Linked DNA regions of Homo sapiens: regions 1, 2, 3, 4 and 6 are each linked to region 5. Evidence: promoter capture Hi-C in 16 types of primary human blood cells and fetal thymus (Javierre and others, 2016). All regions are on one chromosome and are shown on one strand. Each heading gives the region's core, a stretch centred on a gene start or on the middle of the fragment in contact. The rest is flanking DNA. Distances are from core to core; before and after follow the strand shown.

The links. Contacts are between HindIII fragments. The CHiCAGO score rates a contact against its expected background, and 5 or more counts as called.
Region 1: the fragment with the promoter of RBM42 here is called in contact with the fragment with the promoter of FAM187B in region 5 in 1 of 17 cell types (total B cells); the score reaches 5.1 in total B cells.
Region 2: a fragment that was not itself captured here is called in contact with the fragment with the promoter of FAM187B in region 5 in 1 of 17 cell types (naive B cells); the score reaches 6.2 in naive B cells.
Region 3: a fragment that was not itself captured here is called in contact with the fragment with the promoter of FAM187B in region 5 in 4 of 17 cell types (naive B cells, total B cells, naive CD4 T cells and 1 more); the score reaches 6.0 in naive B cells.
Region 4: the fragment with the promoter of ZNF792 here is called in contact with the fragment with the promoter of FAM187B in region 5 in 12 of 17 cell types (non-activated CD4 T cells, total B cells, naive CD8 T cells and 9 more); the score reaches 16.2 in non-activated CD4 T cells.
Region 6: a fragment that was not itself captured here is called in contact with the fragment with the promoter of FAM187B in region 5 in 2 of 17 cell types (total B cells and naive B cells); the score reaches 6.4 in total B cells.

Annotation. Positions count from the first base shown.
Region 1 is chr19:35,627,630-35,630,329 of GRCh38, reverse strand. It overlaps RBM42 (RNA binding motif protein 42), which reads right to left and starts at 1,294. Exons shown (of 10, transcript NM_024321.5): 1 at 1,049-1,294; 2 at 657-810. The coding sequence starts at 1,176. RefSeq lists enhancers at 1,189-1,483, 1,632-1,871, 1,797-2,324. The HindIII fragment of the contact is 21,053 bases long and covers 1-2,700 here.
Region 2 is chr19:35,603,592-35,606,291 of GRCh38, reverse strand. No RefSeq gene overlaps it. Among named protein-coding and RNA genes, the nearest start is that of LINC01766, 7.0 kb to the right of the region's middle. The HindIII fragment of the contact is 210 bases long and covers 1,169-1,378 here.
Region 3 is chr19:35,585,910-35,588,615 of GRCh38, reverse strand. It overlaps PMIS2 (PMIS2 transmembrane protein), which reads right to left and starts at 2,443. Exons shown (of 2, transcript NM_001395412.1): 1 at 2,075-2,443; 2 at 1,320-1,640. The coding sequence starts at 2,356. The coding sequence ends at 1,470. The HindIII fragment of the contact is 2,233 bases long and covers 239-2,471 here.
Region 4 is chr19:34,962,897-34,965,724 of GRCh38, reverse strand. It overlaps ZNF792 (zinc finger protein 792), which reads left to right and starts at 1,496. Exons shown (of 4, transcript NM_175872.5): 1 at 1,496-2,095. The coding sequence starts at 2,063. It overlaps LOC124904699 (a long non-coding RNA gene), which reads right to left and starts at 2,299. Exons shown (of 2, transcript XR_007067236.1): 1 at 2,052-2,299. RefSeq lists silencers at 1,735-1,994, 2,105-2,154. The HindIII fragment of the contact is 6,406 bases long and covers 1-2,360 here.
Region 5 is chr19:35,227,414-35,230,115 of GRCh38, reverse strand. FAM187B (family with sequence similarity 187 member B) reads left to right here and starts at 1,377. Exons shown (of 2, transcript NM_152481.2): 1 at 1,377-2,157. The coding sequence starts at 1,436. The HindIII fragment of the contact is 8,324 bases long and covers 1-2,398 here.
Region 6 is chr19:35,691,602-35,694,301 of GRCh38, reverse strand. No RefSeq gene overlaps it. Among named protein-coding and RNA genes, the nearest start is that of ZBTB32, 12 kb to the left of the region's middle. The HindIII fragment of the contact is 301 bases long and covers 1,266-1,566 here.

The DNA.
Region 1 (2,700 bases), core at 45-2,544, 400 kb before region 5:
GCTTTTTTTTTTTTTTTGAGACGGAGTCTCGCTCTGTCACCAGGCTCCAGTGCAGTGGCGCAATCTCAGCTCACTGCAACCTCCGCTTCCTGGGTTCAAGCGATTCTCCTGCCTCAGCCTCCCAAGTAGCTGGGACTACAGGCACGTGCCACCACACCCAGCTAATTTTTGTAATTTTAGTAGAGATGGGGTTTCACCATGTTGGCCAGGATGGACTCGATCTCTTGACCTCGTGATCTGCCCGCCTTGGTCTCCCAAAGTGCTGGGATTACAGGTGTGAGCCACCACGCCCAGCGCCCAGCCTATTTTCATCTTAATAATTTCTCTCTCTTTCTCTACTAGTCATATATAGTTGGCTACTGAGCACTTGAAATGTGACTAATGAGAATAACGAACTATTAAATATAAATTTTAAATATATCAGAACAGTCTCGTCATTGCAGAAAGCTCTACTGGACAACATGTTCTAGAATATAAGCTCCCACAGGGCAGAAATGTCTCTCTCAGTCATTACTGTGTTCTCAGTGCCTGGCATATAAAATATTTGTCATGCTAATTAGTCAACAAGCCAAAACGTCAACAGCTCTCTGTACACAAACACCTACTCTGTTCGAGGCATTGTGTTCCCTGACTTACATGCCTTAGCTCAGCCGTACCTGCTGGTATGTGTTGGTCGCGATAATTGGGCGGATCACAGGAGCCGCTGGGACCTGCATCGCTTCTACTGTGGGGACCGTGGGGACAGTGGGCACCGCAGGCACAGCAGTTGGGATTCCAGGTACTGGAGCCCCCAGAACTTCCTGCTCAAACCTGGAGGAGTAGAACAGACATCAGCGCTCAGGACCTCGTACCAATTTTGGAACTGTGGGTATATCGCGAGGGGACCCTCACCCCTGCCAACCTCTCCCCTATCCCCGCCCCCACAATCCCGAAGGTCCCACTTCCCCATGTTAGAGCCGTATCTCCGGCCTATCGAGGCCTGGAGGCTCCGAGATTCGGTGGCTCTGGCTCTGGGACGACTTTTATCACTCTCTGTCGCGGGCCTTACAGGGCCATCTCCGCCTCCATTTCCTTCAAGCGTTCCTCGCCGCTTTTGCCCGGGATGCCAGCGCCAGGACCCGGGACCACGGGTCCTCCTGCACCCGGGAGTCCCGGGGCTGGCCCCGCCCCAGCCATCGCTGCCGTCGTCGCTGTCGCCGCTACTACAGTCTCTGCTTAGCCGCCGCCGCTGGTTCTGCTGTCTACTCTCCCCCTTCGTCCGGGTGGGCTCCCGAGGATGACGTCCAGCAAAAGCGACGGGCGCTGGCGCATGACGTCATACATTCGGGCGCGAGAGCCAATGAGATTTGGCCACACCCTCAGGGGGAATATAGGCCAATCAGAGTGAGAGAAGGACACACGAACGCAAGAACCTGGGCCTATGAGAGCACAGCGGAGAGGCGGCCCCGCTTTCCTGGAGGACCACCGGCTAATGAGAGCGAAGCAAAGTCAGTTGGGCCCATCCCCAATGTGGAATCTGGACCTTTGAGATCGCAGGAAAGTTTGGAGGACCCTCCTGTGCCACCGCAGAGCCCGCGCCGGAAGTTTAAAAAGACGCTAAAGTCCGTGTCAACCCCAGGGTTGGGCAAGGCTGGGAGGCCTGGCTGGCCCCTCGGGGCCCCTATCCTGGAGTAGGTTGACACCCGACCTGTGGTTTCCAGGAAGACCGGAGACGCCCGGGAGGAAGCGCCTGACCCGGCTTCCTGGAGGAGGACAGCTGAAGACATTTAAAGATGAGAGCTGTTCAGGGTGGGAGCCAAGGCCCAGAGACTAGTGCAACTCAGAGGAGCACGTCCGTGGGCTTGGTCCCTGTCCTTTCTTGGGCCACAGCTGACCCTTTTTTTTTTCCCGTAGCCCTCACAAGTGTTTTATTCTGAGTATTTTCAAACATGCACATTAAGGGGAATAGTATAACGCACTCTTAAGTACATCTCAAACGCTACCAATATTCAACACTTCTGGATTTCACTTGATCTATACTTCTTTGTCACGCGCGTCCGTGTGAAGAGACCACCAAGCAGGCTTTGTGTGAGCAACAAGGCTGTTTATTTCACCTGGGTGCAGGCGGGCTGAGTCCGAAAAAGGAGTCAGCAAAGGGTGGTGGGATTATCATTAGTTCTTACAGGTTTGGGATAGGCTTATAAAGTACATTCTCAAGGGCGGGGAGAATGTTACAAAGTACCTTCTTCTTTTTTTTTTTTTTTTTTTTGAGACGGAGTCTCGCTCTGTCGCCCAGGCTGGATTGCAGTAGTGTGACCTCGGCTCACTGCAACCTCCACCTCCTGGACTCAAGGGATTCTCCTGCCTCAGCTTCCCTAGTAGCTGGGATTACAGGTGTGTACTACCACACCCGGCTAATTTTTGTATTTTTAGTAGAGGCGGGGTTTCACCATGTTGGCCAGGCTGGTAGCAAACTTCTGATCTCAAGTGATCCACTCGCCTCGGCCTCCCAGAGTGCTGGGATTACAGGCATGAGCCACTGCGCATGGCCTTATACTTTTCTTATTTTTATATTTTTTTGCTGGAGTATGTTAAAGCAAATTCCAGACATCAACTCAGTCATAAATGCGCCATTATGTCTCCTTAACAGATAAGAACTATTTTTTTTTTTTTGAGACGGAGTCTCGCTCTGTCGCCCAGGCTGGAGTGCAGTGGCGCGAT
Region 2 (2,700 bases), core at 24-2,523, 380 kb before region 5:
TCCCCATGTGTTGTGGGAGGGACCTAGTGGGAGGTAATCGAATCATGGGGGTGGTTACCCCCATGCTGCTGTTCTTGAGATAGTGAGTTCTCACGAGATCTGATGGTTTTATAAGGGGCTTTTCCCTCTTTGCTTGGCACTTCTCCTTCCTGCTGCCATCTGAGGAAGGACGTTTTTGCTTTCTTTTCCACCATGATTTTAAGTTCCCTGAGGCCTCCCCAACCCTGCGGAACTGTGAGTCAATTAAACCTCTTTCCTTTATAAATTACCCAGTCTTGGGCAGTTCTTTTCAGCAGCGTGAGAACAGACTAATACAGGTTTACAAATTTGGAAAGGAGAGCTTTATTTCTCATAAAGAGTTGCAGCCTGCAGCCGGGCCATCTCACAGGCCGAGAAGTGTAGCCTCCGGTAGAAGCTGAGAGCAGGCACCTCCAGTAAGGGAAGGATAAGGTCAGAGTTAACGCTGAATGGCTTGGCTCAGTATACATATTCAACAGGTTATAGGAGGAGCTATGAATATTCATGAAGGGAAGGTACAGCACATGTGTAGTAACATCCCATATTCACTTTTTTTTTTTTTTTTTTTTTTTTTTGAGATGGAGTCTTACTCTGTCACCCAGGCTGTAGTGTAGTGGTGCGATCTCAGCTCACTGCAACCTCTCTTTCCCAGGGTTCAAGCAATTCTCCTGCCTCAGCCTCATGAGTAGCTGGGATTACAGGCACCCATCACCATGCCTGGCTAATTTTTTTATTTTTAGTAGAGACAGGGTTTCACCATGTTGGCCAGGCTGGTCTCAAACTCCTGACCTCAGGTGATCCGCCCACCTTGGCCTCCCAAAGTGCTGGGATTACAGGCGTGAGCCACCGTGCCAGGCCCCATGTTCACTTTGGAGTGGAGACTTAACACTTAAATGTATTACAATTAGGCCCTATACATCAAAAGGTGATGCAGAGGACACAAAGGCCCTTTGTGTGCAGCCTCTGTAGACTGGCCAGAGCCACACCCCGTGGTTAGGTGGCCTCTGATCAGGAAGGAATGCTGGTCAGTTGTTATGTTGAAACCACAAAAGGGAGGAGCAGCCATGTATTTCAGGCCATTGGTTGAAATTAGCAGTGAATGAGTCTTTCAATAGGGCTGGTTTCTGTTTAACCCTTAGGGAAGAAAGCTTCATGGCAGTCAGCAAGGGAGGAGGTAGAATGAGGTGTGCCCGACCACCCGTTCAGTCACGGCTAGGAACTCAGCTTTTAGTGTTTCTCTGTAGGCCCCTTGGCCAAGACAGTGTTCATTCAGCCAGTTGGCGGACTTAGGATTTTATTTTTGTCACGTGCGTCCGTGTGAAGAGACCATCAAACAGGCTTTGTGTGAGCAGTAAAAGCTTTTTAATCACCTGGGTGCAGGCGGACTGAGTCCGAAAAAGGAGTCAGCAAAGGGAGATAGGAGTGAGGCAGTTTTATAGGATTTGGGTAGGTAGTGGAAAATTACAGTTAAAGGGGGTTGTTCTCTTGCAGGCAGGGGCGGGGGTCACAAGGTGCTCGGTGGGGAGCTCCGGAGACTTATTGTCCAGGAGAAGGAATGTCACAAGGTAATGTCATCAGTTAAGGCAGGAGCTGGCCATTTTCACTTGTTTTTGTGGTTCTTCAGTTGCCTCAGGCCATCTGGATGTATACATGCAGGCTTGGGCTCAGACACCTGACAATTTTTATTTCTCACAGGTCTCTTATTTACAGCCTCCTGACAAGGATTCTTTGCTTGGCCAAACTTTAGTCAGGCTTCTGAACCTGGGCCGGGCCCAGTGGCTCATGCCTGTAATCCCAGGACTTTGGGAGGCTGAGGCAGGTGGATCACCTGATCTCAGGAGTTTGAGACCAGCCTGGCCAACATGGAGAACCCCAGCTCTACTAAAAATATAAAAATTAGCCGGGCGGCCAGGCGCGGTGGCTCACGCCTGTAATTCCTACACTTTGGGAGGCCAAGGCAGGTGGATCACCTGGGGTCAGGAGTTTTAAGACCAGCCTGGCCAACATGATGAAATCCCATCTCTACTAAAAATAAAAAAATTAGCCAGGCGTGGCGGCAGGCGCATGTAATCCCAGCTACTCAGGAGGTGGAGGCAGGAGAATCACTTGAACCTGGGAGGCAGAGGTTGCAGTGAGCCGAGATCATGCCACTGTACTCCAGCCTGAGTGAGAGAGCGAGACCCCGTCTCAAAAAAAAAAAAAAAAGAAAAGAAAAGAAAAAAAAAAAAAAAAAAAAAAGAAAGGCTGGGCACGGTGGCTCACGCCTATAATTCCAGCACTTTGAGAGGCCGAGGCGGGCATATCACGAAGTCAGGAGTTCAAGACCAGCCTCACCAACATGGTGAAACCCCATCTCTATTAAAACTATAAAAAATTAGCTGGTTGAGGTGGTGAGCACCTGTAATCCTAGCTACTCAGGAGGCTGAGGCAGGAAAATGGCTTGAATACGGGAGGCGGAAGCTGTAGTGAGCCAAGATTGCACCACTGCATTCCAGCCTGGGTGACAGAGTGAGACTCCATCTCAAAAAAAAAAAAAAAAGCATCTGAACCTTCTCCTTCTGTGCACTTCTTTGTAAAATCCAGTTGTAGCAAAAGAACCCTTCTACGTCAGTTTAGCTAGAAACCCTCATCCTCTGTATCTGATACACCTCGGCATCTGATCAGGTTCCTCATCCTCCACCA
Region 3 (2,706 bases), core at 106-2,605, 360 kb before region 5:
TTCCACAGGACCAAAGCACATTTCATGGCTGCAGAGGGGAACCTCTGAGACGTGGCCAGGCAATGTTCCCAGAACAAAGAGGCGATGGGCTCTGGGGGACAGTGAGCAGTCTCTTGCCCAGCAGCTCCATTGACTTTCTACTGAGAATCCCCATTCTCCATGGTGGTGGAAACTTAGTTCTGCTAAATATTGTGCTAAATATTCATCTGGTTCTGAACTTGGGGTTGTCCATGAAGCTTGGGCATCAGAGGCAGCCCCGGGGTGTCTGTGGCCCATGGTGTCAGTCTAGATCTCTGTTTTGATTCATGCACGATGGCTCCCTGCTTATCCCTAGTTTTCCTCTACAGTTCTGTCTCCACCTGGCACTTGGGATTCCTATGGAACCCACCTTCTTCTCACTAGGCTGGGCCATGGGGTATCCTCCTTGGCTGTCTGAGGTCATTTCTTTGTAAATGTCTACACCATGTAGCATATCTTCTTTGAGAACTTGGAGCCTCTCTAGGCCTTATCTGTGAGGAGGGATTATAGATAACAGCTGGGGTCTCTGACGCCCCTCTTCCTCAGATGCAGATTCCAGGAACCTTATGGATGTACTATTGTCTAATCTCTCTCTACATTCCCTTTTCCATGAATGGGGAACCAATGCCTTTCTGGAGGGGGGAGAGGTGGTCTTCATCAGCTATTCTGCCAAAGCTATTTGCATTTCTTGAGGACTTTCCATTCTTCTCCTAAGAGCTTGACATTTGGATGTCAGAAGCTGGAAGAGGTTTCTGTTTTCTTATTGCTGCTCTGAGACACTAGACATCTCCAATCCCAGCTCAAATGAGAAGACCCCTAGAGAATAAACATCAGTTCAGATTTCTAAATATCATCCCCACATTGGCAATTATGCCTGCTTTAGAGACAAAGGAACTATGCTCAAGAAAAGTATCTGTTCAGGGCTATACAGTTTTTCAGTGTCAGAGGTAAGTTTTTAACTGACATCTGCCTGAATTCTATGTCTGTGGGCTTCCCCATTGGGACATTCTGATTTTCACAGTCTAGGAAACAGCTCCAGGGAAACACAGATACTGACCACTGACCCAGAAAACAATCATGGGCATGTTGACACACACACATACACACACACCACAGGAAACCAGAACATTCCATTCCAGTTTTTTGGTTTAAAATTCCTCTGAAAGAACAGCCCAGTGTCAAGGAGCTAAAGGGATCTAGGGCATGAAGTGTGGACCCCTAGGGTGAACGAAGACAGCTCTGGAGCTGAGTGAGTTGAAGTAGCACAGGCAGGTGGTCTGTGTGTTCCTGGGTTGGTGGGTTTCTTGAATGTTGAGTTCCTTGGTTAGAGGATTTCTTGGCTAGATGTCTCAGCGGTTGAATTTCTTGCCTGATGGCTGACTTGGCTGGTTAGTGTTTGGTGAGTGGCTCGGTTGGGGAGCGGACCCCTGGGTTGCTATGCCTAGACTTCATTAATATAGGACCAAGCCATAAATGATGCCTAAGCCAATCATTACCACGAATGCACCGAACCAACCAGTTCGGCCTGAGTTGATGTAAGCCTCTTCCCATTCACTGTTCTGGTTGGCCTTCATAGTCTGTAGGGGTGGAAGCATAGATGTGGGTTTCTGTGTCCAGGAACCCTGGGGAGAACGGTTGGAGACCTGCAGTCACTGAGGGAAAGCCCCTATGCAGGTCCCAGGATAGGAGCAGATGCAGGGGCCAAATGGAGGACAGGGTAGGCTGGGTGCAGTGGCTCACGCCTGTAATGCCAGCACTTTGGGAGGCCAAGGCGGGTGGATCACAAGGTCAGAAGCTCGAGACCAGCCTGGCCAGCATGGTGAAACCCCGTCTCTACTAAAAATACAAAAATGAGCCGGGCACTGTGGCTCATGTCTGTAATCCCAGCTACTCAGGAGGCTGAGGCAGGAGAATTGCTGGAACCGGGAAGGCAGAGATTGCAGTGAGCCGAGATTGCACCACTGCACTCCAGCCTGGGGGACAGAGTGAGACTGGGTCTCAAAAAGAAAAAAAAAAAAAAAAAAGGACGGGGGCTATGACTTGGGCATTATTTTACCTCATAAGAGAAGTACAAAGCTGCCAATCCAAATGGAGGGAATAAAAGTATAGCAAAGATGGTCAAACATAGGTAGTTTGGGGCGTAAAATGCTAGTTCCTCTGGTGTCTGTGTAGGCTCTTGCGGCTCCTGGGGCACCTCAGCTGGGGCACCTGGACCACCTGTGGTAGTGGGAGAACCTGGGGCAGCTGAAGCACCTGGATCACCTGTGGTAGGGGGGGCGTCTGGGGTAGCTGGCGCGTTGGGAGCAGGCTGGGTGGCAGAAGGTGGTTTCAGGGCCATGACCTTTCCCCTCAAAGACGGACTCCGAGTGTCTTGAAAACGGAGCGCCAGACCCACTAGGCTTCCCCTTGTACTAACCAGACTCCCAGGACCCAAACCATCAAAGGCTGAAGCTTCGCAATGGAGAAACCAGCACCCCACGTCCTGATTGGCTGCCTAGTTAGGGGGCGTGGCCCCGCCGTTCTCGCCCACCCCAAGACACAGAGAGTGCAGCCAATCAGGAAGTGGGCTCCGCCCACCCTGGTAGGGATTGGTTGGAAGCCTAAGTGGTGGCTCTCGGCTCCTCCTCCTCCCACTGATCTCTCTCTGCAGCCTGCGCGGATGGGCGATGTCAGGAGGGTCTCCCAGGA
Region 4 (2,828 bases), core at 247-2,746, 260 kb after region 5:
AGAGCAGAGAACTGGTCTGACTAGAGTTCGCCAGGCTGGAATTTCCTAATCCTAGCAAGCCTGGGGGCGCTGCAGGAGACTAGGGTGTGTTTCATCCCTATCTACATGTGCATAAGGCAGACACTCCCAGGGCAGCCATTTTAGAGGCACTGCCCTGGGAATGCATTATTTTCCCAGGGCTGTTAATTATTAATATTCCTTACTGGGGAAAGAATTCAGCGATATTTCTCTTACCCGTTTTTGGTAATAGGAGAAATATGGCTCTGTCCTGCCCGTCCCACAGGCAGCCAGACTTTAAGGTTATCTCCCTTGTTCCCTGAAAATCGCTGTTATCCTGTTCTTAAGGTGCCCAGATTTCATATTGTTCAAACACACATGCCCTACAAACAATCTGTGCAGTTAACGCAATCATCACAGGGTCCTGAGATGACATACATCCTCAGCTTACGAAGATGACAGGATTAAGAGATTAAAGTAAAGTCAGGCATAGGAAATCACAAGAGTATTGATTGGGGAAGCGATACATGTCCATGAAATCTTCACAATTTATGTTCAGAGATTGCAGTAAAGACAGGCATAAGAAATTATAAAAGTATTAATTTGGGGAACTAATAAATGTCCATGAAATCTTCACAATTAATGTTCTTCTGTCACGGCTTCAGCAGGTCCCTCCGTTCGGGGTCCCTGACTTCCTGCAACAATGTAGTGTTATTTTTCCCATTTTATTTACTGGATTTCAATGAGAGTCCCTGCTGTAAAGTTGGAGCCAGCATTGGAGTCCCCAGAGGGCTTGTTAAAACAGAGAAGGAGGCCTGGCACCATGGCTCACTCCTGCAATTCCCAACACTTTGGGAGGCCGAGGTGAGAGGATCACTTGAGCTCAGGAGTTTGAGACCAGCCTAGGCATCACAGGGAGATCCAGTCTCTACAAAAAATTTTAAAATTAGCTGTGTATGATGGTGCACGCCTGTATCCCATCTACCTGGTAGGCTGAGGCAGGAGGATAGCTTGAGCCCGAGATGGAGGCTGCAGTGAGCTATGATCAGGCCACTGCACTCCAGCCTGGACAACAGAACGAGACCCATCCCCCCCGCCCCCCCCGCAAAAAGTAGAGAAGGCTGAATCCCATCCCCAGAATTTCTGAGTCCTTAGATTTAAGTTGTTGCCCCAGAACCTGCATTTTCAGCCAGTCCCCAGGTGATGCTGATGTTGCTGGTTTGAGAAGCCCTGAATCAGAGCGACATTTAATATTACAACGCAAAGACCCCGCCCATTGGGTACTATCCCCATTTTCCAGTGTGAATTTAGGTCCCTTAGGGGTGAAGCGGCTGGCCGATGCCCACACGCGCAGGAAGAGCACTGGGGCTCTCCTCCTGGACCTCGGAGGGTGGGCGGGGTTTAGCGCGGGCGGCTGCAGGCTCGGGAGCGGCCCCTTTAAGGGGAAGGCCCGAGGGCTGCAGGCGGCGGCGGTGGAGACCCGACGAGATCCGCTCTCCTTCCCGCCCTGGACCCTCAGCCTGACGAGAGGCTGGGCAGAAACTCGCGATCCCCAGGCCCTGCCTGTGCACCAGCGGCTGGCGCCAGGCCAATGACAGTACGGGAGAGGGCAACTCTCCCGGCCGCCACGGTGGGGGCCGGAACTTCCTGCACTGCAGCCTCGCAGGTCATTTCCCGGCGGGGAGGCTGAGTCCCCAGGAGCTGGGGACCCCGAGTTGGGGGCGGGGCGGCTGGGGCTACGCCCGTGAAGCTGCCCCGCCGGCTTTCCCGGACCGCGAGGGGGACAGTGAGGCCGGGACCCCCTCCGCGCCTTTGCACCAGCCGTGACCCCTTGCAACGGGGGTACCCAGCGGAGCTGCGCGCTCTCGGCGCCCCCGGAGCCTGCGCCCCGGGCCCCTTGCGCATTTTGCACGGGGGAGACTGAGGCTAGGAGTGCGACCCTCAGCCCGGGGTCACACCTCGTCTGGGGCACGGCCAGGTGGGTGGTAGCCTCAGCCTGCGAGACCCCCTACCCCCGCCCCGTGGTTTCCCGCACCGTGGGGCCCTGCTCTGACCACAGACTCCGATGGCAGCGGCGGCGCTGCGGGACCCCGCGCAGGTGAGTGCTTGGACGTTAGGCCCTTCGCTGTCGGCCCCCCACGCTTCTGTTCTCGGTGTTGAGACGCAAAAGATGGCTTTGTTCTAGGACTTTTCGCCTTTCCCATTTCCTTGCTTTTGAGTCAGGGGACCCTGGAAGGGAGTTGCTCCCAGCTAGGATCCTGAATCAGGGCAGGGTTTATATAAAGTGGCTTCCGTTGCTGAAATGTAATGGGATGGAGGGAGAAAGGGCTTTGTAGGCACAGGAACCAGCGTGCGCAAAAGCTTGGGGGTGGGGTGGGGCACGGTGTGGAGACTGAGTTGGGAGTGTTCAAGGAACCCCACCCAGGTCAGTGTTATTAATATTATGTCTGCTGGAACCAGAGAGCAGGTGGGCTGAAGACAGCTCAGAACGGCAGAGCTGGGCCTCTGTTCTGAGGGTGTTGGGAGCCATGGAAGGTTTAGGGCAGAGGAGGAAGATGCTGTGACTCAGGTCTTAACAGGCTCCCTGTGGATGCACAGTGGAGAACTGAATATGGAGTGAGCCGCAAGCAGGGATGCCAAGGAGTAGCCTAATGGAATAGCCCAGGCCAGTGCTGCGGCTGGCCGGACCAGAGTGAGGACTGGAGGTAGAGGAAGTGATTGGGAACTTGATGTCTTTTAAGTCAAGCTGACCAAATTTTCCGATGTGGAGGGTGAGAAAGAGGAGGGAAGAATCCATGGTTTTTGGTTTGATGAATCCAGCTTTATGAACT
Region 5 (2,702 bases), core at 128-2,627:
GAGTAGCTGGGATTACAGATGCCCGACACCATGCCTGGCTAATTTTTTGTATTTTTAGTAGAGATGGGGCTTCACCGTGTTGGCCAGGCTGGCCTCGAATTCCTGACCTCAAGTGATTCTCCCATCTTGGCCACCCAAAGTGCTGGCAAGTGCTGGCATTACAGGTGTGAGCCACCGCCTGAGAAGGTGTTTAGAAAAGGGGATGGAAGGAAAGGGAGCAACTGAGAAAAATATTTGTTGAAGATGTATTGAGTCATGCAGATGGCTGAGGGAAGAGACGGGGACCAGCATGTGCAATGGTTCTGGGGCAAGAGCCCCTCTGCCTGCCTGACAGATTCAGGGAACAGCGGGAGGCCAGCGTGGTTGGAGGGTAGGGAGTAGGGGGAAAGGTGCAGGAGGTCAGAACAGTAACCAGAGATAAATTTTTTTAAATTTTTATTATTTTTTTTGAGATGGAGTTTCACGCTTGTCACCCAGGCTGGAGTGCAGCGGTGCGATCTCGGCTCACTGCAACCTCCGTCTCCCAGGTTCAAGTGATTCTCCTGCCTCAGCCTCCTGAGTAGCTGGGATTACAGATGCCCGCCACCACACCCAGCTATTTAGTAGAGACGGGGTTTCACCACGTTGGCCAGGCTGGTCTTGAACTCCTGACCTCAGGTGATCCGCCCGCCTCAGCCTCCCAAAAGTGCTGGGATTACAGGCATGAGCCACCGAGCCCAGCCCGAGAGGATTTGTTTACTGCTTTATCCCCAGTGCTAAGAAGTGTGCCCAGAACATAGTAAGAGTTCAGGAAATATGTGTTGAGTGTTCACATGTGACACCTTCATGCTCTTATTTCATCCCTGGGAATGTAGTCTCACCCCTGGGAAAGGAAGCGGGGCAGGTAGTAGAGAAAACTCTGAATAGACAAATTAAGTTTGCTCCTTTCCCAGCAAAATGGAGGGCTTGGAATAGAAATTAAATATGGTCAGCGGGGCACAGTGGCTCACGCCTGTAATCCCAACACTTTGGGAGGCCAAGGTGGGAGGATGGCTTGAAGCCAGGAGTTCGAGACCAGCTTGGGCAACATAACAAGACCCCGTCTCTACAGAAAAAATTTTAAACTAGCTGGGCATGGTTAGCATGCACCTGAAGTCCCAGCTACTCAACAGGCTGAGGTGAGAGGATTACTTGATTCCAGGAGTTTGAGGCTGTAGTGAGCTGTGATTGCAGCACTGCCTTCCAGCCTGGGTAAAAGAGCGAGTCCTTGTCTGAAAAAAAAAAAAAAAAGAAAAACAGTGTTGTCAGCTTGTCACAAAACAAAAGGGGATGGTGACCTCACACACACATGTGGTAGCTGCAATTCATCCCACTGCCCAGGGCTGAGGCCAGAGTTCATGGGTGACCTCACAATGTTCGGGGTGGCACCAGCCCACTGCCACAGCCCCAGTCCACCATGCCACCCATGCTGTGGCTGCTGCTCCACTTTGCTGCCCCGGCACTGGGGTTCTACTTTTCCATCAGCTGCCCCAGTGGTAAGCAGTGCCAACAGGCCCTACTCTCAGGCAATGATATTCTCCTGTATTGCAACTCCTCGGGGGCGCACTGGTACTATTTATTCACACAAGGCAAGAAGGGCAGGCTCACCAGCCTCACCAATATTTCCAATATGGAAATAATGCCCGAGGGCAGCCTTCTCATTAAAGATCCATTGCCCTCCCAGACGGGCCTCTACCACTGCTGGAACAAGAATGGCCGCCAAGTGGTGCAGTATGAAATTGACTTTCAGGATGTCACCACCCTGCATATAACACACAAGGACCTGGGTCAGAGGCCCCTGCAGAACGAGACCCTGCATTTGGGCAGCAAACAGCTCATTTTTACCTGGTGGGAGCCCTGGCAGGACTGCAACCGCTGTGAGGAGCCGGGCGAGTGTAAACGCCTGGGGTACCGCTACATTGAGGAGCCTCTGGAGGAAGCCATGCCCTGCTGGCTCTATCTGGGAGAGGTGCTGGTGTGGTCTAGCCGCTTGCGGCCTGAGCTGCAGGTGGAAGCCTGCCACGTCCAGTGCACCAATAACACACAGTTAAGGGTGGATTACGTCATTTTTGACAACTTCAGGCTCGATGAGAAGACAGAATTTGTGTGGCTCGACTGTCCCTTAGGATCCATGTACAGGTGATGGAATCCCTGCCTCTGGCCCCTACCCAGATTCTTCCGGTCAGGGGATCCTTCCTGGTAATATGTGCAGAGGGATGAGTGGGCGTTCTTTGCAGTTCAGCCACGTAGTGGTCATCAGGACAGTGCCAGGCCCTGCTCTTAAACAGTCCGAGGGGGACACAGCCCAGGGTGGTGCGAGCCGGGATGGGAGAAGCCCAGGCAGACAGATGGGGCTGTGATGGGGGAAGCCCAGGAAGCTTAGGGGCTCCAACAGGCCCCTGCTTCATCTGGAAAGGTCAGTGAGACCTTGGAGGAGAGGCTGGTGCCCCCGGGGCTTCCCATCAAGGCCTGCCTCCCAGAACTCACACTCATCTTCTTACTTCCTGCCAGGAGCCTCTGGAAAATAGCCCCTTCCCCTCCTCTCCCCCAGTCCACCTGCCCCTTAATAAGAAATGCAGGCTGGGCGCGGTGGCTCATGCCTGTAATCCCAGCACTTTGGGAGGCCGAGGTGGGTGGATCACCTGAGGTCAGGAGTTCGAGACCAGCCTGGCCAACATGGTGAA
Region 6 (2,700 bases), core at 167-2,666, 460 kb before region 5:
GGGGAGGAGAAGGGGTAGGAAGAAGGAGGAGGAGGAGGAAGAAGGCGGAGGAGGAAAGAGGAGGAGAAAGAGAAAAAAGGAGGAGGGAAGAGGAGGAGGGTGAAGGAAGGAGAAGGAAGAAGGAGGAGAAAGGAAGAGGGATGAAAGAAAAGAGGAGGGAGGAAGAGGAAGAGGGAGGAGGAGGAGGAAGGAAGAGGAGGAGGGAGAAGGAGGAGGGAGGAGGAGGGAGGAGGAGGAGGGAGAAGGAGGAGAGGGTGGCAGTGGAGGTCACTCCCTATAATGTGGAGCATAGCAGCCACCTGCTGGTCACAGCGCAGTAGGAAGAACACAAAGCCCTGGAGTGAGGCAGAGGGGCCCTGGCTCCTCAGTGGCTCTCCAGCGCCCTCTATTGACAAAGCCTAACCTGGCACCAGATGACAAATGGAACTGAGAGGTAATAAATTGATAACCCACAGGTAAGTGATGGGGCCCCTGCTATTAATAAAAACAACAGTAATAATAACGACTACCATGGAATTCTCAGTGCTGTCTGTGTCATTTATCCCGGAATCGCTGGTGAAGGTTGATGGGGAGGGGGGATTGTGGTCCATTTGCCTCCAGGGTCGGCTCACCCTTCCCTAGGCTCAGGCTTAGGGTCTGAGCCTGCTCTGGGCAAGCACCCTCTCCCTCCTCCCAGACCAGACCCTATAGATGGAGCTGACTCCATCCCTGCTCCAAGGGCAGGCGTGTGCCCCGGAATCTGCACTTTCCCCAGCCCCACACGTGATGGCACAGCACAGTGTCAAACCTAGACAATGAAAAACATTCCAGAGGGGGCACCAGGCCCTCTCACCGTTTTTTGCTTTGTTTTGTTTTGTTTTTGTTTTTTGAGATGGAGTCTTGCTCTGCCACCCAGGCTGGAGTGCAGTGGCACGATCTTGGCTCACTACAACATCCACCTCCCAGGTTCAAGTGATTCTTCTATCTCAGCCTCCTGAGTAGCTTGGATTACAGGCACATGCCACCACATCTAGCTAATTTTTGTATTTTTAGTAGAAACAGGGTTTCGCCATGTTAGCCAGGCTGGTCTCGAACTCCTGACCTCAGGTGATCTGCCTGCCTCAGCCTCCCAAAGTGCTGGGATTACAAGTGTGAACCACCATGCCCAGTCATCTTTTTTTTTTTTTTTTTTTTGAGACTGTTATCTGGGCTGACAGAGTCAGTGGTGCCATCTTGGCTCACTTCAGCGACGACTGCCATACTCAAGTGATCCTCCTGCCTAAGCTTCCTGAGCAGCTGTGATGCAGGTGCTTGCCACCATGGCCAGCGATTTTTAAAAATTTTTTTATTGTTTTGTAGAGACAGGGTCTCACTATGTAGCCTAGGCTGGTCTCGAACTCCTCAAGCGTTCCTCCCGCCTTGGCCTCCTAAAGTGCTGGGATTACAGGCGTAAGCCACCGCGCCCCCCCGCCCGGCTAGGTTTTTGTTTTGTCTTTCATTCTTTTATTTTTCTCCTTAGCACTTATTAGCCTCTAACATGTGTTTTTCTTATTGGTTTTATCTATTTTCCCCTCTAGAAGGTAAGCTTTATTTATTTATTTATTAAGCTCTTTTAAATCTGGGAAGAGTTCCTGTAAGCTTTATTATCTGATTCCCAGGAAGCTTGTAGCCATTTTTCTAACACCAGCCAAGGACGCGGGGACCAGAGAGGAGGAATTGGTGGGCGTGGGACACCTGAGGAAAGGGCAGGGGTGTGTGTTTTTACGTTTTAGTTAAAAAAAAAAAAAAAGAACCAACTTGCCCTCATGGAAGGAGTGTAAGCAAAAGTGGATGTAGTCAGAGGCATGTGCCTGGCTTGATTGCTATATAACACAGTTTCTTATTTCCATTCTGTGATCTCAGATGGTGAGAGAGAGAGCTTGGCTCAGTGGAGCAAGAGAGAGAAAGAGATACCTGGAGAGGTGGCAAGGGGCCAAGCCACACGGGCCCTCAGTGCGAGGTGAGGAGGGCGCTGGAGAGCCGTGGAGGGTTAGAGGCTGAGGAGGGATGCAGTCACCTGGGGTGTGGGGGGAACAGCCATCAAATGGCTGCCTGTCCCTCAAGGGGTCCGGGCCCTGACATAGCCCTGACCTCTTTGCTCCCCTCTTACCCACAGGAGCCGGCCTCTGAGTTTGGGGGCTGGGGCGGACAAACCTGTCCTGCAGGCAGGCCCGCCTGGGTGAGGCCACGCTGCTGCCGGTCTGACTGAGCCACACTCTGCAGGTATATGGTAGGATGGAGCCCGAAAGCCAAGTGGCAGATGTGGGTCAGAGATGGCGGCCTACCTACCTGACTGCCCAGAGGTCAGAGGTCAGGTCAAACCCCGGCCTCCCATCTAGCAAGTCCTGGCCTATTATTATTATTATTGAGACGGGGTCTTGCTATTGCCCAGGCTGGAATGCAGTGGCACCATCACAGCTCACTACAGCCCCTACCTCCTGGGTTCAAGCGATCTTCCCACCTCAGCCTCCCGACTAGCGGTTACTACAAGTGCGCACCACTATGGCCAGCTAATTTTTAAATTTTTTGGAGAGATGAGGTCTCACTATGTTGGCCAGGCTGGTCTGGAAATCCTGGCCTCAAGCAATCCTCCTGCCTCAGCTCCCAAAATGCTGGGATTACAGGCGTGAGCCACTGTGCCCAGCCCTGACCTGTCTTACTGAGAGGTGACAGCGTGCTGGC